Regions from separate parts of the Homo sapiens genome. Here regions 1, 2, 3, 4, 6 and 7 are each linked to region 5. Evidence: promoter capture Hi-C in 16 types of primary human blood cells and fetal thymus (Javierre and others, 2016). All regions are on one chromosome and are shown on one strand. The core of a region is centred on a gene start or on the middle of the fragment in contact, and the rest is flanking DNA. Distances in the headings are between cores, read along the strand shown. Region 1 overlaps CDIP1 (cell death inducing p53 target 1). Region 2 overlaps HMOX2 (heme oxygenase 2). Region 3 overlaps DNAJA3 (DnaJ heat shock protein family (Hsp40) member A3). Region 4 has its middle 15 kb from the start of NMRAL1. Region 5 holds the start of GLYR1 (glyoxylate reductase 1 homolog). Region 6 overlaps HMOX2 (heme oxygenase 2). Region 7 overlaps CORO7-PAM16 (CORO7-PAM16 readthrough).

What was found. The method cuts DNA at HindIII sites, captures the fragments that hold promoters and counts their contacts. A CHiCAGO score of 5 or more calls a contact.
Region 1: a contact is called between a fragment that was not itself captured here and the fragment with the promoter of GLYR1 in region 5, in 3 of 17 cell types (endothelial precursors, M2 macrophages and megakaryocytes). The highest score is 6.3, in endothelial precursors.
Region 2: a fragment that was not itself captured here is called in contact with the fragment with the promoter of GLYR1 in region 5 in 1 of 17 cell types (erythroblasts); the score reaches 5.8 in erythroblasts.
Region 3: a fragment that was not itself captured here is called in contact with the fragment with the promoter of GLYR1 in region 5 in 7 of 17 cell types (neutrophils, fetal thymus, total B cells and 4 more); the score reaches 9.8 in neutrophils.
Region 4: a fragment that was not itself captured here is called in contact with the fragment with the promoter of GLYR1 in region 5 in 1 of 17 cell types (erythroblasts); the score reaches 5.3 in erythroblasts.
Region 6: a contact is called between a fragment that was not itself captured here and the fragment with the promoter of GLYR1 in region 5, in 3 of 17 cell types (neutrophils, erythroblasts and fetal thymus). The highest score is 8.3, in neutrophils.
Region 7: a contact is called between a fragment that was not itself captured here and the fragment with the promoter of GLYR1 in region 5, in 4 of 17 cell types (neutrophils, monocytes, total B cells and 1 more). The highest score is 11.0, in neutrophils.

What each region holds. Positions count from the first base shown.
Region 1 is chr16:4,521,765-4,525,915 of GRCh38, forward strand. All of the region lies in intron 1 of CDIP1 (cell death inducing p53 target 1), which reads right to left. Among named protein-coding and RNA genes, the nearest start is that of CDIP1, 15 kb to the right of the region's middle. RefSeq lists an enhancer at 144-1,008. The HindIII fragment of the contact is 937 bases long and covers 1,787-2,723 here.
Region 2 is chr16:4,502,949-4,506,906 of GRCh38, forward strand. HMOX2 (heme oxygenase 2) reads left to right here. Exons shown (of 6, transcript NM_002134.4): 2 at 2,536-2,662; 3 at 3,947-3,958. The coding sequence starts at 2,577. Among named protein-coding and RNA genes, the nearest start is that of HMOX2, 29 kb to the left of the region's middle. The HindIII fragment of the contact is 957 bases long and covers 1,352-2,308 here.
Region 3 is chr16:4,428,133-4,432,065 of GRCh38, forward strand. All of the region lies in intron 1 of DNAJA3 (DnaJ heat shock protein family (Hsp40) member A3), which reads left to right. Among named protein-coding and RNA genes, the nearest start is that of DNAJA3, 4.2 kb to the left of the region's middle. The HindIII fragment of the contact is 1,791 bases long and covers 463-2,253 here.
Region 4 is chr16:4,457,067-4,461,293 of GRCh38, forward strand. No RefSeq gene overlaps it. Among named protein-coding and RNA genes, the nearest start is that of NMRAL1, 15 kb to the right of the region's middle. RefSeq lists a silencer at 2,469-2,669. The HindIII fragment of the contact is 3,824 bases long and covers 1,044-4,227 here.
Region 5 is chr16:4,845,228-4,849,097 of GRCh38, forward strand. GLYR1 (glyoxylate reductase 1 homolog) reads right to left here and starts at 2,061. Exons shown (of 16, transcript NM_032569.4): 1 at 2,001-2,061; 2 at 947-983. The coding sequence starts at 2,038. It overlaps UBN1 (ubinuclein 1), which reads left to right and starts at 2,254. Exons shown (of 18, transcript NM_001079514.3): 1 at 2,254-2,983. RefSeq lists enhancers at 1,505-1,564, 1,865-1,924, 2,220-3,062 and silencers at 2,115-2,834, 2,845-2,934. The HindIII fragment of the contact is 6,120 bases long and covers 1,104-3,870 here.
Region 6 is chr16:4,484,852-4,488,936 of GRCh38, forward strand. All of the region lies in intron 1 of HMOX2 (heme oxygenase 2), which reads left to right. All of the region lies in intron 1 of LOC124903636 (a long non-coding RNA gene), which reads right to left. Among named protein-coding and RNA genes, the nearest start is that of HMOX2, 10 kb to the left of the region's middle. The HindIII fragment of the contact is 7,136 bases long and covers 1-4,085 here.
Region 7 is chr16:4,343,719-4,347,664 of GRCh38, forward strand. The region is part of intron 27 of CORO7-PAM16 (CORO7-PAM16 readthrough); the gene reads right to left. All of the region lies in intron 1 of PAM16 (presequence translocase associated motor 16), which reads right to left. Among named protein-coding and RNA genes, the nearest start is that of PAM16, 5.6 kb to the right of the region's middle. RefSeq lists a silencer at 1,216-1,416 and an enhancer at 3,631-3,946. The HindIII fragment of the contact is 3,035 bases long and covers 1-2,768 here.

The DNA of each region.
Region 1 (4,151 bases), core at 1,005-3,504, 320 kb before region 5:
CCCCCAAGACCCACCACTTTCCAGCTGAGCGAGCTGAGCCTCGGTTTCTTCCTCTGTAAACAGAGATGATCATGCCTACCTCTCAGGGTGGGAGTGAGGTTGAAGAGAGACTGTGTGTGAAACGCCTGCAGCAGAAACGCTGGGCCTAGCACACAATGACGCTAAATAAATGGAAACTGCTATTATTATGCTTTATTAGGCAACTTCCAACAGGGAGGAAAACAACAGGTATTGACGCCTCTGCCATGGAGTGCCTTCTGATTCCCAACGAGGGGTCCTGGTGCATGTTCACTAATATGACTACAAGGGGATGCCTCTACCGGATTCTGGAGGGACTTGCAATCAAAACCCTCCCTAAGAACTCAGCTCAGCAGCGTTCCCTCACAGCACAGCTCAGCTGGGCCACCTGCTCCACGGTAACCCGAGACAACTCTTTGAGAAGGCAGAGACACTAGCAGTCCTCCAAGGGCCATCTCTCCTGGTGGGCTGTGGAAATGCCAGGGGCCTGCCTGGGAGTGCCCAAGGTTGGCAATGCCCCTGGAAGGATGCTCCACCAATACACCCTGGTGGCAGGGGCTCTGCAGCAGCTGCTGCCCAGACACATTTCTCAGAGCTGGGCTGGCTTGGTGCTGCATCCCCAGGAGGTGCTTACCCACGTGGCAGCCATGGCGTCAGGACGCCAGCTGGCCTCAGAGGGGCTCCTCTGTCCCCAGGAGGCAGGTCCCAGGCATCCAGCCAGGAACAGGGCTTTCTGCTTTGCTGGGAAAACTGAAAGGCCGATTTCTGCCTTGCCTGCAGCTTCCATGTGCTGAATAAAGGAGGTGCCCACTGCTCCATGAGGGGCAGAGCCGAGGTAAAAGACAAACACTCTCTGTGCTTCTTGGGTCTGAAAAGAGAATGGCAAGGCCCAAACCAGGTCTGGAGGAAAAGGCCAAAGCAAGAAGTGAGCCAGAAGCAAGCAGGAGCTCACGTGGGCCTCAGGGAAGATGCTCTCAGTCCAGATAGCAGCACCCTGCAGGGACAGGGCAGCGGGAAAAGGAGAGCACAGAATCCCCACCAAGGGTGCAGGCCTGAAGGGGACCCTTCCAGGGAGGCTTGGCCCACACTAGGCCTTTCCATCCTGTGACATCTCCATCCAACACACAGACGGATTAGTTCAAACCCACCTTGGAGGGCGGTGTGAGAATTAAGTAAGGCATGGATATAAAAACTTACTGAACCACTGTAACGGGCCATGCAGCGTGAGGGTCATTAGGAGGGGGACTGTTACTTGCAAGGGATGGCCGCTGACCACGTAGCTGTTCCGCCTATTCTCCCAAGCACCCCAGGGCTGGGCTGAAGCACAGTCTGTGAGGTGACCACGTAACAGAGGCCCTCTAAGGGGAGGGCGGGGGATGGTGCTTCCTTCTGATAGTTACTCAGCACATCCTCCGTGCCAGATACAGGCTGGGGATTAAAGACACGTCCCTGGCTGGGCGCAGTGGCTCACGCCTGTAATCCCAGCACTTTGGGAGGCTGAGGAGGGCGGATTACGAGGTCCAGAGATCGAGACCATCCTGGCCAACACGGTGAAACCCCGTCTCTACTAAAAATACAAAGATTAGCTGGGCGTGGTGGCACGTGCCTGTAATCCCAGCTACTTAGGAGGCTGAGGTAGGAGAATCACTTGAACCCAGGAGGCGGAGGTTGTAGTGAGCCAAGATCGCGCCACTGCACTCTAACCTGGCGACAGAGCGGGACTCCATCTCAAAGAAAGAAAAAAAAAGACATGTCCCTGCCTTCCAGAAGCTTACGGTCAAGTGAAGAGGATGAGCGTTAAATAATCACCCCCCTCGCCAAAAAACCACAAACACAATTACATCTGTGACCAGTGGTATCGAGAAAGTCCAGGGCACAGTAGAAGGACAGCAAGATCGCCGTTCTGGAGCTCTAACACCATCTCTTCAAGCAAACCTGGGAGGAGGTGGCGGAAGAGTTAATGAGACCAGCAGGCAAAGGGAGGGATGGGGACAGCAGAGGGAACAGTGAGTACACAAGGCCTAAGGAAGGAGGGATGTGCCCCTGAGGGTGGCCAGATGGCAGCCTGGGGCCCTCACAGCGACCCAGCCACAGGGTTTGTTCCAGAGCTCAAATACCTCAGATCTCCAGGACAAGGATGACAAGGCCAGCTGGACAGTGTCCCAGGCCCTTCTCCTCAGGCTTTAGGCTTCCCCAGGAGACCTCCGGCACCATTCAGCCTTGTTGCATTGTGGCACTTGGAAACAAAGACAGCGGTCTTCTTTGCTTGACTGTCAATAGAATATTGGGAGAGCACAGGTCTCCCTGGGACCCTGCCTCGCCGCTGATGGCCTGCAGCCCTAGACAAATTCCTCAACCTCTCTGAGCCTCAGTTTCCCCACGTGCAAAATGAGGTTCTTGGAAGGCTGAACAAAATCCCACATGTAGATGTCCAGGCTGTATTGCTGGAGACGCCTTCCATGAATTACTACGCAGATACCACCACCCATACAGAGCTGTGCTGTGCTCCTCCACATCACACTGCAAAGGAAGAAGGCAGAATAACAAGATCTCAAACAGCAATGTTCCGCCTAATGAAGTACAGACTGGAGATTGCCAGCTGCACCCAAATCCACTCTCTCCCCCATTCTTGAATACAGAACTCCACTTTCACTCAGGGCAAGTCCATCAACCAAGAGGGTCCCCGAGCTTTCTTAGAGTGACAAAGCTTTGGCTAATGAGCTGTAAGCAGAAGTGTCCAGACCATAAGAAGGCATTCAGGGCAAGCCGACTCAGCCCGGAGCCAGGCCCTTCATCTTTCCTGCCTTCCTCCCATCTACCACCTGGAAGATAGATGCCATGGCTCCAGTAGCTGTGCTTCACCATGAGGGCCTTGGGATGGAGGCCAGTGCCTAGGACAGCCATGGGACACCACACCAGCAACTAACTGACCACCTCCCACATCTTCCACATGAGTAATAAAACTTGGTTTACTGGTTAATTATTGGTAAATTATTTTCAGGTTAAGTATTAACAAGTGTCATTACAAATATACAGCACAGACAGGTGCAGTGGCTCACACCTGTAATTCCAGCACTTTGGATGCCAAGGTGGGAGGACTGCTTAAAGCTAGGAGTTCAAGACCAGCCTGGGCAACATAACAAGATCCCATCTCTACAAAAAAATAAAATTAGCCAGGTATGGTGATAGACACCTGTGGTCCCAGCTACTTGGGAGGCTGAGGCGGGAGGATTGTTCTAGCCCAGGGATTCTAGGCTACAAAGAGCTATGTCACGCCAATGCACTCTAGCCTGGGCAACAGAGTGAGACTCTATCCCCCCTCCACCACAAAAATATATCTCTACAGTTCCTTAGGTCTGAAGGAACACAAGTTCTCTTCAAGTGATCCATGATCAAAAGGATCATGGCTTTCTTTAGGTCACATGACACAGCCTCAGCCAGTACAGAGGCCAAGGCATGGGGAATACTCCCTGGCGGGAAGGCTGGAGCAGATGCTTCCGTAGTTAAAACAGGCCCCGAGAGAAGTGCAGCTGGTTGCCTTGGAGCGAGGACACATTCTTCTGCAACTCCAGTGCTCATTTCAGCATGAGCACTGGCTCAAGGAGGAGCTGAGGAGGACGATGGCGTGCAGTGAACGTTAATAGAGCATGCACTGTTTGGATGCAGGTGCCCAGCACAGGGACATGAAGGAAGTGCTCCAAGTGAGGAGGTGCTCAAAAGGGAGCCCCTGCTGTGAGACTGCTCCTGGGCCCCAAACCCTCTCCACTCCCCTCTCCACCATGCCCTATCCAAACCTGGGGCTAATCCAGCCACCCAAGTCCATGTGGGACCAGGCCAGGATTCCCTGTGGCCTTTCGCAGCTGACCAGAGGGACCCTATTCCCAACGCTGGGTGATGAGCAGGAAAGAGGAGGCCCTCCACAAAGGTCCACTCAGTTGCAGAGCAGCCTCTAGTGAGGCTGAGCCCTCCCAAGACTCAGGGAGGTTGCCAATGTGTCCCCTTCTCTGGGACCGTTGTCCTCGGCTGCCAAGTTCTAGCACAGGCAGGCCTGGAAAATCCTGAACATGGCCCATTTCCCATTGTCCTGATGGAGGCAGGACGAGACAGTCCCTCCCTCAGATAACATCGCGGGT
Region 2 (3,958 bases), core at 580-3,079, 340 kb before region 5:
TGGGATTACAGGTGTGTGCCACCATGCCTGGCTAATTTTTGTATTTTTAGTAGAGACAGGGTTTTACCATGTTGGCCAGGCCGGTCTCGGACTCCTGACCTCCTGATCTGCCCACCTCGGCCTCCCAAAGTGTTGGGATTACAGGCGTGAGCCACCGCGCCCGGCTAGCAAAGCTGTACTTTTACCAAAAAAAAAAAAGAAAACATTTATAAATCAAGGTCTGAAGGCCCATGTGAGGCTTATTCTACAGCTTGCAATGCCTGTTTTTGCCCCTTGGTAAGTGGACGCACAGCTGGGCAGCCTTATGCTATCTCTGTGAACTACCCATTTCTGGCTTTGTTCATAATATTCCCTTGATCTGGAGGCCCTCCCCCAGCCCTGCCCCAAATCCTGTCTGTGTTGAGGGTCCTGCCCCAGGAAGCCCTCTGCATACTCTTCCCTGCATGTAATACCTGCCTGCTTTCACATTCTTCTAGACTGTGCTGTGCATCGTACAGTTCATCAGCATTATTGCAGAGTAGAGTGTCTCTGATTTGGAGTCAAGAGAAGGTTCCATTTTTCTGTACATCCCGATGTTTATTTTCTGAGTGTTCTCAGACATCACTAAGCCTCAGTCAAAATAAAGTATGATCATGATGTAACATTCATTGAGTGCTTATCACATGGTAGGCATTGTGCTATATGAGTTATTGCTTGACTTCCTAAAATAATCCCAGTAGAGATGCTAAATCTAAAGGTGAGAGAGATGGTTCAAAAAGACCTCAGTGAGCAAACCATGTACTATAATATCCTAAAAGATAACAAAAATGTAACTAGGTATCTAGAGAAAACTCAGGAAGGATATGTGCCTTGGGCCTTTTAAGGACCATTTCTTAACACTTCTGTGTTCTTCTTGACACCTGTTTCTGGGTAGAGCACATAGAAAATGCTCAGTAAATAAGTTCTTTTTCCTTGGCCCAGTTTGGCCTGATTTGGCCCCAGTTCTGTCTTTGTGAGTTACTTTATTAGTTGTCGGTGCTACTGTGCTGCTATTCATGTGGAAGATTCCCCAAATGGGCTGCGCCTTACATTGCCTGAGCAGAAGCCCCGAGGGATGGAGGATGAGCTTGCCTTGTTATGGGACTGTGTTTCCCTGGCTGACAAAGGCTCAGCATTTGCAGCAGGCAATGGGAATTGATTGGCCAACTTAATATTTCCTTCAGCCTAGCAAAGTCCTGAGTAGGCTAGGGACAGTCTGCTTTTTTGGTAACTCCTGTAGGCTGCCTTCTGCACAAGGCACCCAGCCTCTCACAGGTAGGATGAACTGGCCTCAGCACGCTTGCAGAGGGGTGGAACTGTGCGTTGCTTGCCAAGCTTTTTGTTTCCCTAAGGTTTTTGAGGTTTTCTTTGTTTTTGGTAACTTTCAATTTTTTTTTTTTTTTTTTTTTTTTGGACAGAGTTTCACTCTTATTGCCCAGGCTGGAGTGCAGTGGCGCGATCTTGGCTCACTGCAACTTCTGCTTCGTAGGTTCAAGTGATTCTCCTGCCTCAGCCTCCTGAGTAGCTGGGATTACAGGCACGCGCCACCACATCCGGCTAATTTTGCATTTTTAGTAGAAACAGGGTTTCTCCATGTTGGTCAGGCTGGTCTTAAACTCCTAACCTCAGGTGATCCACCCACCTTGGCCTCCCAAAGTGGTGGGATTACAGGCATGAGCCACCGTGTCTGGCCTAACTTTTAATTTTGATACGGTCTTTTTTTTTTTTTTTTTTTTTTTTTTAAGACAGTTTCGCTCTTGTTGCCCAGGCTGGAGTGCAACGGCGTGATCTCGGCTCACTGCAACCTCTGCCTCCTGGGCTCAAGAGATTCTCCTGCCTGAGCCTCCCGAGTAGCTGGGATTACAAGTGTGCACCACCATGCCCGGCTATTTTTTGTATTTTTAGTAGAGACAGGGTTTCACCATGTTAACCAGGCTAGTCTCAAACTCCAGTCTGCCTCGGCCTCCCAAAGTGCTGGGATTACAGGCATGAGCCACTGTGCCCTGCCTTGATACAGTTTTAAGCATACAGAAAAATGGTAAGAATAGTACAAAGAACTCTCATACCTCTTCCCCAGATTCACTGCTAGGATTTTGCCTTGTTTGCTTTTCTGACTTGCCAGTGTCCCCCACCCTGCAGCATATGCACATGCACACACACTGTCTTCTGAACCATCTGACAGGGAGTTGCAGGCAGTGTACCTTTACTTCTGAATACCCCAGTGTGTATTTCTTAGGAACAAAGACATTCTCTTATATAATCGCAGTACAATTATTTTTAAAAACCAGCAAGCTTAATGTCAATACAATGCTATTACCTAATACATTGTTCATATTCAGATTTTTTCCATATTCCACTATGGTCCCAGTAATGGCAGAGCTTTATTTTAAAGAAAACAATCCTGGGGTGTGTGGGTGTCACCTTGGTTACATTCGCTCTGAGGAAAGCAGAACCGACAGGTATTTGGGGAAGTGACTGCCGTGGGTGCCACATCACCAGCTCCTTGTGTCTCTGCAGGACCAGAGGAGCGAGAGCAGCAAGAACCACACCCAGCAGCAATGTCAGCGGAAGTGGAAACCTCAGAGGGGGTAGACGAGTCAGAAAAAAAGAACTCTGGGGCCCTAGAAAAGGAGAACCAAATGAGGTGAGCGATGGGGGCTGGCTGCACTGAATCAGGTGGGCCCAGCACCTGTCGTGCTCAGCACACCTGGTTTTGTCTGTTGGCAGCACTGGGGAGTGGCCATGGGCCATGAGCTCTGGACCCCTGGGTGCCTGCTTGGCCCTGCAGGGACCGCATACAGCTTCGGCTGCTTAGAACTCTCCCCACTGGTCCATTGTCTCATCCAAGGAGGCAGGGCAGGTGCTCCTGGGAGTGCTGATAGGATTTGATGGTAGTTATCCTTTTTTCTTTTTAAAAACTTGTGCGTTTCCTCATCTGGGCTGAGAAAGGGTAAACGCAGGCAAAGCTGGCTCTGTTCAGTCTTTTACCACATAAAAGACTGCAGGGCAGCCTTTCCTTACTCTGTATAGGGACAGCTCATGCTAAACCTGAGCTTCCAGGCCCTGTTCTGCATCATTAGCCTCTCATAGCCCTGTCATTGGCCAAGTTTTTTTTTTATCCCTTGAAATAATTGCTAATAATAAATTGATTCTCAGCACATGGATGATAACGAGCTAATCTCCTAAAGAAGACAGCAGAAGCCAGACCATGATAAGGCCAAATTTTTCTCACTCTTGTAGATGGATTGTGTGGACACATGTAAGCCCCTGCCCAAGTACCACCATCTTTAGGATCACATGTTTTCTACCTTGTCCATCCATCCACACACCTTTACAACTGTGTAATTTCGTTAAGCAGCACAAACCCAGCGTCCTGGCCCTAGCCTCTCGGTTGTCTCCTTTGCATCCTTCCGTGCTTGGTCCTAGTCACATATAGTCTCAAAGAAGCTGTGGGTCCAAGGTGGGAGGAAGGCAGTAGGGCCATCTGAGGAGACCCATGGTCACAGCCTTACTGAGGTGTGTGAATTCCAGAAGACACGTTCCAAGGCAGGCTGTTCTTAGAGAAGCCAGCAAATACTGAAGGGAATACAGATGTGTGTCTCTTCGACCACTAGGTGGCCACAGAAGCAAAGCATTGCTCATTTGGGTGGTTCCCAACACAGACACATGGACGTGGGTACTACTCTCAAGGAGCAGGCCACAGTTATCCCTTGTGTCCTGAGTCCTTGGAGCAGAATGTCATGTCTGCTTGTCCTGTGTTCCCTGACAAGTTGCTGCTATTTGTGTTGGAGTGAAGTGTCTGAGAAGCCCCAGCCTCCAGTACAACAGGTGGTCACCTTGGGGTGTGGACTCAATCTTCTCTCTATGGTCCTTTCTGGAAAGCTGGGAAGGGCTAATTGACACACAAACACCTCCCATCTCTCCACAGAATGGCTGACCT
Region 3 (3,933 bases), core at 108-2,607, 420 kb before region 5:
AGTAGAGACAGGGTTTCACCGTGTTAGCCAAGATGGTCTCGATCTCCTGAACTTGTGATCCACCCGCCTCAGCCTCCCAAAGTGCTGGAATTACAGGCTTGAGCCACCGCGACCGGCCTTATTTTTATTTTGAGATGGACTCTTGCTCTGTTGCCCAGGCCAAATTGCAGTGATGTGATCCTGGCTCACTTCAGCCTCCCAAGATGCTGGGCTTATAGGTGTGTGCCACCATGCCAGGCTAGATTTTTCAACATGAGCAAAAGTGGCCATTTTTAGAGCTTGCTAACATTTTCTAATGTCAAGGTTGTTTTAAATAGAATCTGGCTGCATCTTTTCATTCAAATATTAATCCTTAGGTGACTTGTTTTATTAAGCCAAATTTGTTCATGTTCCAGCTGTACAAATTTGGGAGCACTCGTTATTATTGTGTATGTGAAAGAGAGAAACAGGCACTAAACACTAAGCTTTGTGTGAAGCTGTGACTAAGGAACTGCGGTTAGCTGTCTTGTTCCCCAAGTGAGCTCATAACCTGCCATGGGCAAGTTTTATATCAGGTAGTGTACACAGGTGAGAGGTGGCATCCTTCAGGGTACGTGCTGTTTTCACAGATAGAGTCATCAACTGGTTGGGCGGGGTGGCTCACGACTGTAATTCCAGCGCTATGCTGGCGCTGAGGCAGGAGGATCACATGAGCCTAGCAGTTTGGGACCAGCCTGGGCAACATAGGCAGATCCCATCTCTACAAAAAGATTTTTTTTTTTTTTTTTTTTTTTTGAGACGGAGTCTCACTCTGTCGCCCAGGCTGGAGTGCAGTGGCACGATCTCGGCTCACTGCAAACTCCGCCTCCCGGGTTCAGGCCATTCTCCTGCCTCAGCCTCCCGAGTAGCTGGGACTACAGGCACCTGCAACCGCGCCCAGCTAATTTTTTGTATTTTTAGTAGAGATGGAGTTTCACTGTGTTAGCCAGGACGTCTCGATCTCCTGACCTCGTGATCCACCCGCCTCCGCCTCCCAAAGTGCTGGGATTACAGGTGTGAGCCACCGCGCCCGGCCAAGATTTTTTTTGTTTGTTTGTTTGAGACGGAGTCTTGCTCTGTAGCCAGGCTGGAGTGCAGTGGTGCGATCTCGGCTCACCATGATCTTGACTCACCGTGATCTCGGCTCACCGCATCCTCCGCTTCCTGGGTTCAAGTGATCCTCTTGCCTCAGTCTCCTGAGTAGCTGGGACTACAGGCACGTGCCACCACTCCCAGTTAATTTTTGTATTTTTAGCAGATACTGGATTTCACCATATTGGCCAGGATGGTCTCGATCTCTTTACCCATGATCTGTCCACCTCAGCCTCCTAAAGTGCTGGGATTACAGGTGTGAGTCACCGCGCCCGGCCTACAAAAAGATTTTTAAAAATTAGCTGACTGTGGCCGGACATGGTGGCTCACGCCTGTAATCCCAGCACTTTGGGAGGCCTATGCGGGCGGATCACCTGAAGTCAGGAGTTTGAGACCAGCCTGATCAACATGGAGAAACCCCGTCTCTACAAAAAATACAAAATTAGCCAGGCCTGGTGGCGCATGCCTGTAAACCCGGGTACTCGGGAGGCTGGGGCAGGAGAATTGCTTGAACGTGAAAGTCGGAGGTTGCCGTGAGCCGAGTTAGCGCCATTGCACTCCAGCCTGATCAACAAGAGCGAAACTGTGTCTCAAAAAAAAAAAAATTAGCCAACTATGGTGGCAACTGCCTGTACTCCCAGCTGCTTGGGAGGCTGAGGTGGGAGTTTCACTTGAGCCCAGAAGGTTGAGGCTGCAGTGAGCCATGATGATGCCACTGCACTCCAGCCTGGGCAACAGAGTATGACTCTTTCTCTACCAAAAAATTAATAAAGTCATCAACTGAGAAGCCATGTGGTGGCGAGCCTCTATAGTCCTAGCTACTCAGGAGGTTGAGGTGGGAGGATTGCTGGAGTCCAGGAATTTGAATTTGGCCTAGGCAACATAATGAGACCCCTGTCTCTTAAAAAAAAAAATTTTGAAAAGGTCATTAACTCAGCGTCCAAACACTAGTCTGTGATCTTGTCTCAAATCTAGTAGTAAGATGACATAACAACATTTTAGATGTGACTTTTCTTCCAAGCAGAAAGAAAGCAGTTGTTGGTGGCCAGGTATGGTGGCTCATGCCTGCAATCCCATTACTTTGGGAGGTGGGTTGATCGCCTGAGGTCAGGAGTTTGAGACCAGCCTGGCCAAGATGGCCAAAGCTTGTCTCTACTAAAAATAGAAAAAGTTGGTCAGGCGTGGTGGCGGGTTCCTGTAATCCCAGCTACTCGGGAGGCTGAGACAGGAGAATCGCTTGAACCCAGGAGGCAGAGGTTGCAGTGAGCCGAGATCGCGCCACTGCCCTCCAGCCTGGGCAACAAGAGCCAAACTCCCTGTCAAAAAAAAAAAAAAAGAAAGCAGTTGTTGGACAGTGGGTTGGCCATTCTTAGAACGACTTGGAGGCTTATTTTATTCTGGGTTGTTCTAAAAAGGACAGGACATTTACTGGTCATATGTGATAAAATAAATAGTCTATTAAATGAAATCTAATTATTGTTAATCATTGATGCCCTATGGATAATGTCAAAAGTCATCAGACTGGGGATGGTGGCTCATGCCTGTAACCCCAGCACTTTGGTAGGATGAGGCCGGCGGATCACTTGAGGTCAGGAGTTCGAGACCAGCCTGGCCAACATGGTGAAACTTCTTACCTACTAAAAATACAAAAATTAGCCAGGTGTGGTGGTGTGCGCCTATAGTCCTGGCTACTTGAGAGGCTAAAGCAGAAGAATCGCTCGAACCTGGGAGATGGAGGTTGCAGTGAACCGAGATCACACCACTGCACTCCAGCCTGGGTGACAGAGTGAGACTCTGTCTCAAAAAAAGAAAAAACAAAGCCATCAGTCTTGTAATTAAACGTGATTTGTCTTTATCCACATGCAGTTTTGTGCGTTACTATCTCTGTACTAACTCCTGTCCGTGTTCTCTGCCCGTAATGTTGAAGCCACAGCTGCCACAGGTCACTACCAGCCTCCGCCTTGTGGCATTGGAATGAGTGGTGAGAGAGAGGCTGGACTGGGCCGGGCAACCCCTTACTCCGAAATAAAAAGAGGGTTGAGTACAAGTTCAATAATAAGTCAGGTCTAGTGTTTTCTCAAGTCTGACTGAAGAAACACAAAGTGGTCTCCTGACCCCTACTACTTCCAGTGTGCTTTTTGTATCCCGAGGATATTGGGTGTGCCAAACACACGGATTTATTTCCTATTTCTAATTTTAAGTATCCTGACCATTCCTATCCATTCTCCTGTCTGATCATCCTTTACCTGGCCTCCTACTTGGATGTGCTCAACCAACCTCTGGTTGTGTTTTGTGCTGATTAACTTCGAGTAGTCTCCCAGGCTTCCTAGAGTTGTTTCTCTTTTTTTTTTTTCAGGTGGAGTCTTGCTCTGTCGCCCAGGCTGGAGTGCAATGGCGCGATCTTGGCTCACTGCAACCTCAGCCTCCCAGGTTCAAACAATTCTCATGCCTCAGCCTCCCAAGTAGCTGGGATTACAGGCGTGCACCACCATGACCGGCTAATTTTTGTATTTTTAGTAGAGACAAGATTTCACCATGTTGGCCAGCTTGGTCTCGAACTCCTGACCTCAAGTGATCCACCCGCCTCGGCCTCCCAAAGTGCTGGGATTACAATAGGCGTGAGCCACCTTGCCTGGCCTAGAGTTGTTTCTCATGCAAACCTAATGGGTTCTTTGTTTAACATTTGCAGTGGCTCCCTATTGCTCTTAGGATAAAATCCAGACTCCTTAGCATAGCTCTAAGGCCCTTCCTATTCCTAGGCCCCATTAATCGTTATCATCTCTAACCACCACTACCACCACTGCCATCTAGTTTAGTTATAGG
Region 4 (4,227 bases), core at 1,706-4,205, 390 kb before region 5:
TCCCTCACTGGATTGTTTCCCTTCATTCTTTCCAGTCTTTGCATCTTTTACATTCAATTTTATTTTATTTTTTTTTTAAATGGAGTCTCGCTGTGTCGCCCATACTGGAGTGAAGTGATACCATCTCTGCTCACTGCAACCTCTGCCTCCTGGGTTCAAGCGATTCTCCTGTCTCAGGCTTCTGAGTAGCTGGGACTACAGGTGCATGCCACCACGCTTGGCTAATTTTTGTATTTTTAGTAGAGATGGGGGGTTTCACCATGTTGGCCAGGCTGGTCTTGAACTTCTGACCTCAGGTGATCCGCCCACCTCGGCCTCCCAAAGTGCTGGGATTACAGGTGTGAGCCACCATGCCTGACCAAAATTTTTATGTATTATAGTTTGGCTACTCTGGGTTCCCAGCCACGCTCTATGCCTGGCGTGGCTAGAGGGGCCCTGATACACAGCTCAGTCCACTCTGGCACTCTGGGCTGAGCAGGGTGAGATGAGAGTCTGTTTGCTGGGTCAGGTGGAGAAGAGACTCGGGAAAGAGCTGACGGACAGGAGAGGCTCAGCAGTGACATTCTGCTCATCTCAGATACTTCCCAGTATTTTCATCAATGAAATACTGATTGCCTGCCTACTGTGGACACTCAGTATGGACCAGGCCCTATTCTAGTTCCTGGGGATACAGCAGTGGGGAGCTAGACCGTGTCTCTTGTGAAAGCTTGGGCTTATTCCTGGAACAGTCACCCTGAGTCTCATTCATGTCCTATTGCTTCAAAGCAGAAGTCTAGAGAAAGACTTTGGAAGAGAAAGGTGGATTTTCTTGCTAAACAGAAACCATTGTTGTGTTGAAGCATCCTTCCCTCAAGGGATTAGAGGTGGCTGTGCATGACCAGGCGAGGTGGCTCACACCTATAATCCCAGCACTTTGGGAGGCTGAGGCGGGTGGATCACCTGAGGTTAGGAGTTCAAGACCAGCCTGGCCAACATGGTGAAACCCCGTCTCTATAAAAATACAAAAAAATTAGCCAGGCGTGGTGGCACATGCATGTTATCCAAGCTTCTCAGGAGGCTGAGACAGGAGAATCACTTGAACTCAGGAGGTGGAGGTTGCAGTGATTGGAGATCATGCCATTGCACTCCGGCCTGGGCGACAGTGCGAGACTTCATCTCAAAAAAAAAAAGGTGGCCGTGCAACAGCTGTAGAATTCAGTGCTCTTTCTGGGCCTGGGTTTGGTTTATTTCCACTTGTGCTCCTGATGTATTTGTTACCAGACTTCTTTATAGCTTCTGAGTAGTAGTATGTATTTAAAAATATAAGAAAAGGGCCAGGCATGGTGGCTCACGCCTGTAATCTGAACACTTTAGGAGGCCAAGGAGGGAGGAATGTGTGAGCCCAGGAGCGAGAGAGTGAGACCCCCATCTCTACAAAAAAATTCTAAAAAATTAGCTGGGAGTGGTGGCTTGGCACCTGTAGTCCCAGCTACTTAGAAATCTTGAGGTGGCAGGATTGCTTGAGCTGAGGAGTTCAAGGCTCCAGTGAGCTGTGATCATGCAACTCCACTCCAGTCTAGGTGACAGAGCCAGACCATGTCTCAAGAAAATAAAGTATTTCTAGGCCTGTGAGCCTGTGGGAGGTACATGTTTGGCACTTGCTTAAACATTAGGAGGGTGGGCCGGGCGTGGTGGCTCACACCTGTAATCCCAGCACTTTGGGAGGCCAAGGTGGGCGGATCATGAGGTCACGAGTTCAAGACCAGCCTAGCCAACATGGTGAAACCCTGTCTCTACTAAAAATACAAAAATTAGCCAGACTTGGTGGTGGGCGCCTGTAATCCGAGCTACTCGGCAGGCTGAGGCAGGAGATCCGCTTGAACCCTGGAGGTGGAGGTTGCAGTGAGCCAGGATTGCGCCACTGGATTCCAGCCTGGGTGACAGGGTGAGACTCCATCTCAAAAAAAACATTAGGAGGGTGGACAAGGCCAGCTCTCAGGCATTGGTCCTCAGCCCCATTCCCACCTCAGGCCTGGGACTGGGTTGTTTCCAACCTGAGCCCCCTCCTCACTCATAGTCCTTTGGGTTCTGGTGGCCTGGCCTTTGTTTCCTTCCCTGTCAACCAAACAGTGTGCAAGAATTCTCTCCAGGCCCACAGGCCTCCAGCTGCCCCTGCCCCTCTGTGTTTGTAGCACTGCAGAGCCGGCTCTGATGTGGAGGACGGCAGCTGCACGGCTCCTGGAAGAGGCTTGTTTCACACTCTTGCTTGTTAATAAATACTGTGCAGGTCTTATCTTTTAACTAGAAGTTCTGCTTATTTCTCATGACTCTTCAAGGGTCACAAATGGGCCAGGGGGGAACATAAAAGGCGAAGTGGGTCCATAGTTATATGGCCAAGGGCATGATCCACAGACCTTAGCTTACTGGTCACCTCCCCCGATGCTGCTCCTGTCCCCATTTATTTATCCTTCCTGTTTTGTTTTTTGCAGCCCTTATGTCAATTTGTTTTTTGGGTTTTGTTTTGTTTTTGAGACAGGCTTTCACTCTGTTGCCCTGGCTGGCTTGTGGTGGTGCAATCACAGCTCACCACAGCCTTGACCTCCTGGGCTCAAGTGATCCTCCTACCACAGCTTCCTGAGTAGCTGGGAGTACAGGCACATGCCACCACGCCTGCCACCATTTCTTCTGTTTTTTTGTTTTTGAGGCAGAGTCTCCCTCTGTCGCCCAGGCTGGAGTGCAGTGGTACAATCTCGGCTCACCACAACCTCCACCTCCTGGGTTCAGCTGATTCTCCTGCCTCAGCCTCCTGAGTAGCTGCCGGCACACGCCACCACGCCCAGCTAATTTTTGTATTTTTTGGTAGAGACAGGGTTTTGCCATGTTGACCAAGTTGGTTTCGAACTCCCAACCTCAACTGATCCACCTGCCTTGGCCTCCCAAAGTGCTGGGATTACAGGCATGAGCCACCACGCCTGGCCCTAGTTTCTTTTGTATTTCTTTTTTTTAGGTAGAGATGGGGTCTTGCTATGTTGCCCAGGCTGGTCTCGAACTCCTGAACTCAAGCCATCCTCCACCTCAGCGTCCCAAAGTGCCGGAATTACAGGCGTAGATACATAACTATTTATTGTGTGTTTCTATCAGGCTCTCCCACTAAATATAAGCTCCTCAAGGCAGGCAGCATAACTTTTTTTGCTACATTGTATTTAGGGCCCAGCATACTGGTAAATTGTCAAAGAAATGCTTCAGTCAATGGATAGAATGAATTTTTGTGCCTGGGGGTGCCAGAGCCAGGGTGGGGAAGTAAAAAAATAAAAACTGTGATGGTAGTCACACAAACCTAAATGTGTTGAATTGAAATTCACAGAACTGCTGGGCTCAGTGGCTCATACCTGTACGATAATCCCAGCTACTCAGGAGGTTGAGGTGGAAGGATCACTTAAGCCTGGGAGGTGAAGGCTGCAGTGAGCTATGACTGTGCCACTGCACTCCAGCCTGGGCAACAGAGCGAGACCTTGACTCTTTAAAAAAAAAAAAAAAAAAAAAAAAAATTGGCCAGGCGCGGTGGCTTATGCCTGTAATCCCAACACTTTGGAAGGCCGAGGCGGGCGGATCACGAGGTCAAGAGATCGAGACCATCCTGGACAATATGGTGAAACCCCGTCTCTACTAAAAATACAAAAATTAGCTGGACGTGATGGTGCATGCTTGTAATCCCAGCTACTCGGGAGGCTGAGGCAGGAGAATCACTTGAACCCAGGAGGTGGAGGCTGCAGTGAGCTGGGATCGTGCCACTGCACCCCAGCCTGGGTGACAGAGGGAGACTCCGTCTCAAAAAAAAAAAAAAAAAAAAAAATCGGAGCTGCCATGGACCACAAACTCTCAGGCAAATAACTGGTCTCTCGGCCTCTGACCCTCTTCTCTGTGACCCACCCCAGCAAGCAAGGTGGGTTGTTTCTCCTTCAGTTTTGCTTCCCAGCAGTGTCCAATTACTGTGCGTTGTGGACCACAGCTCTGCCACATCCGATTTTCCTTTTTCCAACCTGTTTGAAGTTCACCTGTGTCCAGGATGGTACCCCAAGGCCGGCTCCTTCCAGGACAAGGATGAGGAGAGAAAGGGAGAAGCCCATATCTCCCCCGCCTCCCTGCAGAGCCTGTCTCCAGTTCACATGTGCAGATGGCCTCACTAGCTCTGGAGATGAAAGGGGTGTGTCAGAAGCTCGGCTCCTGGGGCTCCTCTGTGTCCTGTGC
Region 5 (3,870 bases), core at 811-3,310:
ACAGTTCTACGTTGCTAAGAAAAAAGTAAATTAAAAGGACTTACTTACAAATAAATTTATTTATATACAAAACAGAACCCAAGGCCTAGTACTTGTCTAAATCTCCCATTTTTCTATTGAGGTGTATGGAAATGTGTAGATATTCTAGAAGTTCCCAATATTTAACATGTAGCACAGTGCTCAGTAGACACAATATCCCTTTTACTGCAGTGGCCCTGTTTTACAAGCAGTTAAAACTAAGATCAACAGCATCCCCTGCCCCCCACCACCCCACCCCTGCTCCAATGTGACCCCATTATTACTGAAAAAATGCAGACGACACTCTTTGAAATACTTCCTGTGCAGGAAGGGTTGACACAGGACATAGTGAAAACAAAGGACAACCGAGGCACAGAAAACACCATATTGCAAAGAGACCATCTAAAGACACCTCCCGGGCTCCAAGCAAGAATATAAAAACACAACATTTGGAAAGCAATGATGGATCACCTCATGCAAAATCTGGAATGCCAACTTCTGCAAAGAGGCACTGGAGTAGCACATATGGTAACATGGAAAGAAGATTTAAACTTAGTTGGGACAAAAATACTTTGGCTTTTCACTAACCTACATTTAGACTTTCTTCCTGGATAATTTATATTTTCTTCTCCTTTTGTTACATTTAAGCATAAAGCTAAATTCAGACTAGAATTATTTCCGGGGTTAAAAAAGAAACTTCATAAACCTCCTCTAAATCCAGAAATAAGGGTTTAGAGAAGATTTAATGATCTGGTGTATACTGCATTGCCTTTTAAAAAATAACCGATACTAGGGGAAAAAAAATTCTAAGTGCCATCTGAATGAGCCCAATTTAACTCAATACTAGAAACTGAGAGGAATGCATCTTACATTCTCCACCTCTTCAAACCCAACTTCAGATCTCTTCCTTTAGTAGCAAGACACTCACCTTTCCTGGCCAAGGAGGATATCGGCCGAGTTTCCCCCTAGAGAAAACACAAAGAGTCAACACTTGCCCTGCAAAAGCCAGTCCATCTCCTTCAACCCACTCAATACGCAATTTATTTTCCTAAATCTCTGCTGGCATCCTCAAATGCCGAAACAAAAGCTTTCATAGCTGGGCCCAACACCCTCAGAAGTAAAATGCAAAATTGTATACTTATGTGCACAACGCATATCCATTCTTCTGTTGACAAGGAATACAGAACAACACAACTGTCAAAAGTCACTTGTCTAGAGCTTCTTAATGACGGGGGTGGGAGGACAGCTTCCTCTGTAAACACAGACTTTCCCTCCCTAAGTCTGGTTTAATTCAACAGGAGACCTGCCTGGCTTTGACAAATGCTAATGGAAGCCTTCCTCTGGGTGGAGAAACAAGCTACGCAGCTCGAGGGAGGCGGCGACAAAGTCTTGGTTCGGGCGGTTGTCTGGGACACAGAAGCAGACCGCGGGAGGCACCCAAGCGTGCACTGGTCACTGCCAAGCCATCGGTTGTAAAGGAGAAGTCCCCCCGCCGTTTCTTCGCGGGGCAACGCCAGCAGTCCGGTTTAGACAACCCCGGCTGAGCCGGCCGCACAGGTCGGCTGCATCGCAACCTGGGCTTTGACCGAATGGCACCGGCCAGATCTCGCAGGTCCGGTCCCCGGCGCTTCTGCTTTCTGGGAAGCCCCAACAAGACCCCGGGGACCGGTCGTCCGGGGAAGCCTCGCGGCACCGGCGGCTCCCTTCACGGGGGCCGCCAGTATCTGGGCCCCGAGTGCAGACCCCACCCGGCCGGCCTCGGGGATCAAAGCCGGTGCCCGACGTGGCCACCCTCGGCCTCGGTCCCCCGGGACTGGACTGCCCCTTCCGCCTGGCGCCGCTCGCAAGCGCCGGCACCTTCTCTTCCCCTCTCTCCGCGACCTGGAGCGCATAAAAAGGCAGCTCCAGGGCCGGCAGCGAACCCCGCGCCCAGGCGGGTAGCTCCCCGGCGCGTCTCGGTTGGCCCGGCCGCTCGGACTCACCACACCAAGTCGCCGAGCCGCAGACTCACAGCCGCCATCTTACCACCCAACCACCGCCGACGCACGGGCCGCCGGGAACAGCAAGTCGCCCCGGCGCCGCCCATTGGAGTGGGCCCGACCACGTGACGGGGGCCGGCTGTCACTGGCCACGCCGCTACTCTGACGTCACCGCGCCCGCCGGGGATCATTGGTCGACCGAGGGGCACGTGACGCGAGCGCCGCGGTCTCCGCGCGCCGGAGCGCAGAGACTCCCGGCTCCTTCCCCCTCCCTTCGGCTCGTGACAACGAAGCGCCCGCGGTCTGAGGCGGCGGCGGCGGCGACGGTGCGACCGGCTGAGCGCGAGAGGGAGCCGGCCTCGCGGCTCGCCCCGCCCCCGGGTCTTGGACTCCGCGCCCCTCCCCTCTCGGCGCTTCCGTTACGCCCGTTGGTCCGGCGCGGGCCCCGGGGCCATTCCCGAGCCCGAGGCGCTGGTCGGCCCCGTCGCAGCGCCAGTGAGCTACCCTGACGGAGCTCGGCGCGGCCTGGAACTCAGCCTCCGCCGGGTCTGGGCTCCCGCGCCCGGCAACTCTGCTTGGCCGCAGGCCGGGAGGCCCCGGTGTCCGCGCCCGTCCGCTCCCGCCGCCCGTGTTCTTTGGAGCGCTCCTCCCGACGGCCGCTTTCGGAGGCGCCGTCTGAGCGCGGGGTCCCGCGCCGCAAGTTCTCCTGGGGCGACCGGAGGCTGCTCCCCCGACCCCCTGGTGTCCCCGGAGTGGCTGCGCGGACGTCGAGTTGGCATTTCTTCGCTTCCTCCTGGGCCGGCGCGCGGCGCGGCACACCAGGCTCCCCTGGGCTCGGGGACCCGGCCATGGGCCGAGGCGCGGGCCGCCCGCCCGCTGGGAGCCACGGCTTAGCAGCCGACCGCTAGCTGCGCCGCCGCCCGGGGACCGGCATGAGGACCGCCGCGGGGGGACGTCTGCGGCCCGCGTCGGCGCTGGGGACAAAGGTGCGTGTCGTTGTCGGGTCCGGGCTCTCTCGTTAGCCTTGCCCTAGTTTTGCACTTTTGAAAAAGTTGTGACAACAGGAAGACAGATGCCGGGCGTAGTTTGGACACTTTAAAACTGAACCATGAACTGGGAAGTGTTAACTGCAGTTGAGCGCAGCGTCGGCCCAAACTTCAGCAGACCAGGTAGAATCACAATTTTGCAAAAGATCCCAGTCCCGATCACAGACTCCACAGTGTTAAGGATTGACTTAGACTTGGTGTCGGGCTCTTGTTGAGTCACTGCCAGCTGGCAAAGGTGGCGAGTCGACACGCATTTCCCCAAGGCATTGTGGTGGTTAGAGATTTCGGTTGCAAGTCGGTGTTTAGCGTACTGGGTCGTCCCGCAGCCTGATTTTTCTTGGGAGATCAGTTTCCCTGAAGTACCAAGAATTAGCTGCACGGACTGTCATTTACTGCGTGTGTATTTTTAAGACAAAGTGATCTTTAAAGCGTATTTAAGATTCCAGGGAATAATTTGATAAAAATTTAACATAAGTTCCTGTTTAAAAATTCTGAATTTGTGAGGAATTGAATGAGATTTTAATAACTTAAATAAAAACATGAATCTTGGCCGGGCAGGGTGGTATAAGCCTGTAATCCCAGCATTTTGGGATGCCGAGGCGGGTGGACCACCTGAGATCAGGAGTTCGAGACCAGCCTGGCCAACACGGTCAAACCCAGTACTCTACTAAAAATACAAAATTAGCCGGGCGTGGTGGCGCATGCCTGTAGTCCCAGCTACTTGGGAGGCTGAGGCAGGAGAATCGCTTAACCCGGGAAGCGGAGGTTGCCGTGAGCCGAGATTATGTCACTGCACTCCAGCTAGGCGACAGAGCGAGCGAGACTCG
Region 6 (4,085 bases), core at 565-3,064, 360 kb before region 5:
ATACAGTGCTATGTAAATAGTTGTTATACTGTATCGTTTAGGTAATCATGACAAGAAAAAAAATCTGTACATGTGTAGTACATATGTAGCCATCTGTTGTTTTTTTTTTCCCTGAAGATTGATTGGTTGATTGAGACGGCATCTCACTCTGTCACCGAGGCTGGAGTGCAGTGGCGCAGTCTTGGCTCACTGCAACCTCCACCTCCTGGGTTCAAGCGATTCTCTTGCCTTAGCCTCCCGAGTAGCTGGGATTACAGGTGCCTGCCACAACCCCCGGCTAATTTTTATATTTTTAGCAGATTCCGGGTTTCACCATGTTGGCCAGGCTGATCTCGAACTCCTGACCTTAAGTGATTCACCCACCTCCACGTCCCAAAGTGCTATGATTACAGGGGTGAGCCACCATGTCAGGCCTTTTTCTGAATATTTTTAATCTGAGGTTGGTTGAATCCACTGATGCAGAGCCCATGGATATGGAGGGCTGACTGTACTGTATTGAGCTTCTAAGGTATGCAGAGTATTGGCACTGAGGGGATGTGCAAATACAACAACAAACCAAGCATAGTCTTTGTTTACTAGGAGCTGGTAGTAACTGTGGGAAGACACAAAACAGTAAAATCACTTTGTAAGGTTTATGAGAGTTTTGAGAGGCCAGGGAAGTTAAAGAGTGGAGAAATGGAGAAAATGGGAGAACTTGTACTGAACCCATTAGGACAGAGGAGGAAGGGAAGAGAAGGAAGGAGGCCAAAGAAAGAAGAAACCCTTCTTAGAGCACTCAGGGTCTTACTGAAAACTTTACCCATAAAAAGAGAATGTCACTGATAGACTCCTTTTAGAACAGGGATTGATTTTTTTGTTTTTGTTTTTGTTTTTATTTTTGTTTTTGTTTTTGAGAGAAGTCTCGCTCTTGTCCCCCAGGCTTGAGTGCAATGGCTTGATCTCGGCTCACTGCAACCTCTGCCTCCCGGGTTCAAACAATTCTCCTACCTCTGCCTCCCAGGTAGCTGGGATTAAGGCACCTGCCACCACGCCCGGCTAATTTTTGCATTTTTAGTAGAGACAAGGTTTCACCATGTTGGCCAGGCTGGTCTCGAACTCCTGACCTCAGGTGATCCACCCACCTCAGCCTCCCAAAGTGCTGGGATTACAGGCTTGAGCCACCATGCCTGGCCACAGGCAACATTTTTAAACCATACGATTGTCCTGGAGAGAGAATCTGAAGCCTTGCTCTGATTCTGAAAGGGATTTGCAACCAAAAAAGGATAAGGATTGTTCTGACAAGTACCCTTTCTTCCCATCTTCAAAAGTACACATCTCTTAATTTGTGTCTTCAAACACAAATTGTGTTCAAAAAAGGAAGTATTTGAGTAGATTAAAGACAGAAACCCTAGGACATTCCTTTGTAAACAAACAGCCTTTTACCAAACACCAACTGTCAAGGGACTTGCCTGAGTACTTGTCCAAAGGACAGCGTGTCCCCATGTGTAGGCAGTGGTCTAATCTGGTTCCTAGGAGAGGACTGCTGAGGCCACAGCAACTTAACTGGCTAGTGTGGGTGAGGCAGAAGTGTTTGAAGCTCAAGGTCTGTCAAGGACAGCTGATTAGAGTATGTCTGTCCCTAATACAGGGTTAGAGCTCAGTACCAATGCTGGGGATGAGGTGAGTTGAAGACACAGAAACTACATGGTTTTTTGGAAGGTCACGAACTTTTCAAGGAACTAGTGGGCAACTGGAAATGATATGTGAAAGAGTAGAGGGAGCTCTGGCCTAGCTGCCAGAAAACTCTGGGCAGGTCAGGTCTGGGAACAGTGGCTAATCCAGGCCCAGCTTCCCACTGTTGATTTGGACATACAGGCCTAAGATAAGAGACCGTGCCCAGAGCCACTGGTCACTTAGCACAGGTAGTGGGAAATGGTAGCCAGCAAATGTTTAATTGAATATCTTATGTCTCCTAGACCACAGCTGAGCAAACTAGGCCAAGCTCAAGGTCCTGAGGGGAATGAGGAGCTGAGCTCAGTCCCTTTTGGCCCCCTTTCTCTTTCCCTCCTCATTTTAAGTATGGAAGCTCACTTATTTCCTTTTTGTATTGGCCATTTGTGTAGGGTTTTGTTTGAAAAAGGGCTTGAGGCTGGGCGTGGTGGCCCACGCCTGTAATCCCAGTACTTTGGGAGGCCAAAGAAAGATTGCTTGAGCCCAGGAGTTCGAGACCAACCTGGGCAACATAGTGAGACCCTGTCTCTACAAAAAAATTTTTAAAATTAGCTAGACATGGTAGTGAATGCCTGTAGTCTCAGCTGCTCGAGAGGCTAAGTTGGAAGTATCACCTGAGCCCAGGAGTTGAGGCTGCAGTGAGCTCTGATTGACCCAGTGCACTTCAGCTTGAGCAACACAGCAAGACCCTGTCTCAAAAAAAAAAAAGAAGTTGGGCACAGTGGCTCAGGCCTGTAATCCCAGCACTTTGGGAAGCCTAGGTGGGCGGATCACCTGAGATCAGGAGTTTGAGACCAGCCTGACCTCTAAAACTACAAAATTAGCCAGGCGTAGCCCAGCGGCTCATACCTGTAATCCCGGCACTTTGGGAGGCCGAGGCGGGCGGATCACCTGAGGTTGGGAGTTTGAGACCAGCCTGACCAACATGGAGAAACCCCATGTCTACTAAAAATATAAAATTGCTGGGCGCAGTGGCTCACACCTGTAATCCCAGCACGTTGGGAGGCCGAGGCGGGTGGATCACAAGGTCAGGAGATCGAGACCATCCTGTGAATGGCGAAACCCCGTCTCCACTAAAAATACAAAAAATTAGCTGGGCGTGGTGGCTGGCGCCTGTAGTCCCAGCTCCTTGGGAGGCTGAGGTGGGAGAATGGCGTGAACCCGGGAGGCGGAGGTTGCAGTGAGCTGAGAACACCAGCCTGGGAGACAGAGCGAGACTCCGTCTCAAAAAAAAAAAAAATTAGCCGGGCGCGGTGGCATATGCCTGTAATCCCAGCTACTCGGGAGGCAGAGGCAGGAGAACTGCTTGAACCCGGGAGGCGGAGGTTGCGGCGAGGGGAGATCACGCCATTGCATGCCAGCCTTGGCAACAAGAGCGAAACTCTGTCTCAAAAAAAAAAAAAAAAAAAAATGTAGCCGGGTGTGGTTTTGCATGCCTGTAATCCTAGCTACTCAGGAGGCTGAGGCAGGAGAATCACTTGAACCCGGGAGGCAGAGGTTGCAGTGAGCTCAGACCGTGCCATTGCACTCCATTGTTTCGCTGCAACGAGAGGGAAACTCCATCTCAAAAAAAAAAAAAAAAAAAACAGGCTTGAGTATACCTCTCACAGCCCTGGAGAATGCCTGAGCTGTTGGACAGTTGCCTTTTCCATTATGTCTGCTTTTTTCTAAAGCTATTCATTCATTGTTGCCTAATCATGTCCTCAGTCAGTAGTTGATGTTCTGGGCTATTTGAATTTCCTCTGAATAATGATTAATGGAGATAATGATGTTTGACCAGTTCTGGGAACTCTTGGGAATTAAAGGAATTAAACTCTTGGACATTAAACTTCACTTTAATGTGTATAGTTGTGGGTGCTGCCCCATTGGAGAAGATTGTGACAGGAAGTTACACAGTTTTACAGCAAACTGCTGGGATTTTTTATTTTTTTTTCAGTAAATTATGATAACTGTAGCATTTTCCTTTGCAATAATGATAACCTAAGGCCTTGGTGTTTCCTCTAAAATGTACATAGATACAGGATGTGGGTTTGTTACAAAGTTGTATAACTATTGCCTTTTTGTGGCTGACCCCTTCCCTAGAGAACAACATGAAGAGACCTTGCTGCTGCTATGAAACCCAGACTCTAAGGACAACTTGGGGGACATTGGATATTTTTTCACAGATGTAGACATCAAGGAGTCAGTGGTTTGTGTATGCGTTGAGTGGAGAAGGCTGGCAAGCATTTGCTACCATGACTGTTAAAAATGTGCCTGTACATTTCTTTTTTTTTTTTTTTTTGAGACAGGATCTCACTCTGTCACCCAGGCTGGAGTGCAGTGGTGTGTTTTTGGCTCAGTACAACCTCCACCATTGTGGGCTCAAGCAATCCTCC
Region 7 (3,946 bases), core at 1-2,500, 500 kb before region 5:
AACCTTTACTTTACCAACGGGGAAACAGATCTGTCCTAATTCTCCCAAGTCCGAAGACTTTAAGTCCATTCCATTCAATAAAACAAACTTACTATGCAAACCTGTTTCCATCTTCAAGGAGCTAAAAGCCCACTAGGAGGGTATTTAAACACACTATGGACCAAATCATGAGGGAGAGTCAGGCTCGTTCATTTGTGCAGCCATTGGTTCACCCATTCATTCAAACATCTGCTGAGAGTCTACTCTGCTCAGCACTTGAGCACAAAGCTACACAGAACCTGGTCCCTGCCCCGAGTCAGAGCACACTGCTGGCCTGGCAGGGAACCCCACTGTCACACACCAGGCTGAACATGCCGGAACACTGCACGTGTGATTCCATGCCCCGCAGAGGCCCTGGGGACTCACTAAGATGTGAGCGGAAGCAACAGAGTCGAGGGAAAACTCAAGACTGAGATGGGATTCGGTGAGAGGAGGGGGTTCTGTGTGAGAGGAGGGCGTTCCGTGAGAGGAGGGGGTTCCGTGAGAGGAGGGGGTTCCGTGAGAGGAGGGGGTTCTGTGAGAGGAGGGGGTTCTGTGTGAGAGGAGGGGGTTCTGTGAGAGGAGGGGGTTCCGTGAGAGGAGGGGGTTCTGTGTGAGAAGAGGGGGTTCTGTGTGAGAGGAGGGGGTTCTGTGTGAGAGGAGGGGGTTCTGTGAGAGGAGGGGACTGTGTGACAGGAGGGGGTTCTCTGAGAGGAGGGGACTGTGTGAGAGGAGGGGGTTCTGTGAGAGGAGGGGGTTCTGTGAGAGGAGGGGGTTCTGTGAGAGAAGGGGACTGTGTGAGAGGAGGGGGTTCCGTGAGAGGAGGGGGTTCTGTGAGAGGAGGGGGTTCCGTGAGAGGAGGGGATTGTGTGAGGGGGGGTTCTGTGAGAGGAGGGGGTTCCGTGAGAGGAGGGGGTTCCGTGAGAGGAGGGGGTTCTGTGAGAGGAGGGGGTTCCGTGAGAGAAGGGGGTTCCGTGAGAGGAGGGGGTTCCGTGAGAGGAGGGGGTTCTGTGAGAGGAGGGGGTTCCGTGAGAGGAGGGGGTTCTGTGAGAGGAGGGGATTGTGTGAGAGGAGGGGATTGTGTGAGAGGAGGGGGTTCTGTGAGAGGAGGGGGTTCCGTGAGAGGAGGGGGTTCCTCCTGGGCTGGGCTTTGCAGGGTAGGAAGAATCATGATGGAAATACTAGGGCTTTCTAGGCAGAGGGACTGGGTTGAGCCAAAACTGGCAGGAGAGAAGGCAGAAGGGAGTTCCTGCGAGCAGCCAATAGCCTAGGCTGGCCTGGGAAAGACTGGGAATCTGGCGGATGACATGGAAAGATGCACAGATCTTTGTGAAACAAAGCGATTATATATAGACAGCACATACAAAGGATCTTGTGACTGCAAAGCCGTAGACGCAGGGGGGTGGCGCGGGCTGGAGGCAGCTCGGCATAGGTTGAAAGCTCATGTGGCACAGCCGAGTGACTTTCCCTTTCTTCCTAGTGCTTTTCTGTAGATTTGCCTTCAGTCAACAAGTATCAACTGAGTCCACACACCAGGCACGGTGCCAAACACGTTCAATTCATTGTGCCGTTTAATTCTGACAACTCAGGGGTGGGGGACTGCTGACTGGCCCGAGGACGTAACAGCAGGTGCCTCGGAGGCAGATCGGAAACCCAAGGCTGGTGCTATCTGTCACAGCAGTCACTACGCAGGGTCCCGGGGTCTGAAGGTAGGGCACCTGGGCAAGCCGACAAGTATCAAGAACCCAACCCCGAGGCCAGAGGGGCTTGCTCCAGATTCCAGTGGATTCGACTCCAGAGCTGGCCTTGTTCAGCCTCCGAGGACCTGCTCTTTCCTTAACAGGTGGGATGTCATTATGGGCCATTAGGGGAATGAACAAACAAGTGGGTTAAGATTTCAAAAGTAGGTGGAAACTTCATAACTTCTGGATTTCACAGCAGAAAGAGCCCAGAGAAGACCCTCCTGTGATCACAGCGAGGGGCAGGGCTGTGGCTGTACTGCAGATGAGGGAGGGTCAGGGATGCACCTGATGACACCTGCGGTCTCACCTGACTTCGCCTCCTTCCTAAAGCCCCTCCCGAGTGGAACAGGAGGCTCAGGGATGGGATGCTGGTGCTGTCTGAAGGACAGAGGTGAAAGTCAGAGGGTCCCCTCGGCTTGAAACACGGCTCAGGTCTCAGACTACCCCTCACACCAACAGCCTTCGGTCCCTCTGCTGCCATCGTACAGCCTTGCAATCACTTGTTTACTTTTCTGCCAAGGCCAATGACTGTTGCAAAATAATGAACGGTAAGAGCTGAGGTCATAACTGGGGAGCTTCCCCGACCATCCCCTGCACACTTCAAACCAAAGCGGCGTGGTGGCCTGTGGCTTCAGCTGCCTAGAGCTGCAGGGCAGAGGGGGGCTGGCCTGCAAAGTTTCAGCAGACTGGACGGCCCATTGAGGCCAGCAAGGTTCCTATAGGAGGCATCTCTGAGAAGACGCAGTGTAGTGTAATGGTTACACCTGCAGGCTTTGGGATCACCTGTGTGCAAAAATCCCAGCTATCTGACATAGACACGTTCTCAACTCCTTTGAGCAACCCAGTTTGCTTACCTGTAAAATGTGGCCACCAATAAAGCTGAGATAATGCCTGTCAAATGCCTGGCACACAGCCTAATGGTACAGCAGGTGCTCAATAAACATTGGTTTTCATTCATTACTACTGTTTCACAAAATCTGACAATGACCAGGCACTATGAAGTAACAAAGCTTCTTTCAAAATAGCAGCTCATTTGATACAGGCCCTTTGCTTCCTCAGGGGTGAAGGCTGCAAAACACCATACTACATTCCCTCAGGGAGCTGGGAAGCAGCAAGGAAGCAGAACGAGAACCACGTTGACCTGGGACCAGAACCCTAGCTTTCTTTCTCAATAGCTGTGTGACCCTGGACAAATTACTCAACCTCTCTGAATCTTTTTTTGTTTTGGTTTGGGTCTTTTATTTTTTATTTATTTTTTTGAGACTGACTCTCGCTCTGTCACCCAGGCTAGAGTGCAGTGGTTCAATCTCGGCTCATTGCAACCTCCACCTCACCAGTTCAAACGATCCTCCTGCCTCACCCTCCCAAGTAACTGGGATTACAGGTGAACACAACCAAGCCTAGCTAATTTTGTATTTTTAATAGAGACGAGGTTTCACCATGTTGGTCAGGCTGGTCTCAAACTCCTGACCTCAGGTGATCCACCCGCCTCGGCCTCCCAAAGTGCTGGGATTACAGGCATGAGACACCACACCTGGCCTTTTTTTTGGAAGCAGAGTCTAACTCTGTCGTCCAGGCTGGAGTGCAGTGGTGCAATCATGGCTCACTTGCAGCCTCAGCCTCCCAGCCTCAAGAGATTCTCCTGCTTAAGCCTCCCGAGTAGCTGGAGCTACTTGTACTCAGCCTCCGAGGACCTGCTCTTTCCTTAACAGGCGGGATGTGATATGGGCCATTAGGGGAATGAACAAACACAAGTGGGTTAGGATTTCACAAGTAGGTGGAAATTTCATAACTTCTGGAGGCTGAGCACACGCCACCACATTTGGCTAAATGTACTTTTCTGGAGAGATGGGGTTTCGCCATGTTGCCCAGGCTGGTCTTGAACTCCTAGGTTCGCATGAACTGCCCTCCTCGGCTTCCCAAAGTGCTAGGATTACAGGTGTGAGCTACTGTGCCCAGCCTACCTCAGTTTTCTTAACTGCAAGATGGAGAGAATAACACCCTCCTCACAAGAGGACAGTAAGGCCCTCAGGAGGCAATGCCCATTAACACCACATGGACAAACAGCGGCAGGTCCAGAACTAGGCGGTGCAGGCAAGCCCCTCATCCACCTATCCAGTACCCCAACATCCCCTGAGCTTCTGCCATGGGTCAGGCTGAGTTCAGAGCTCATTCACAGGGAGCAG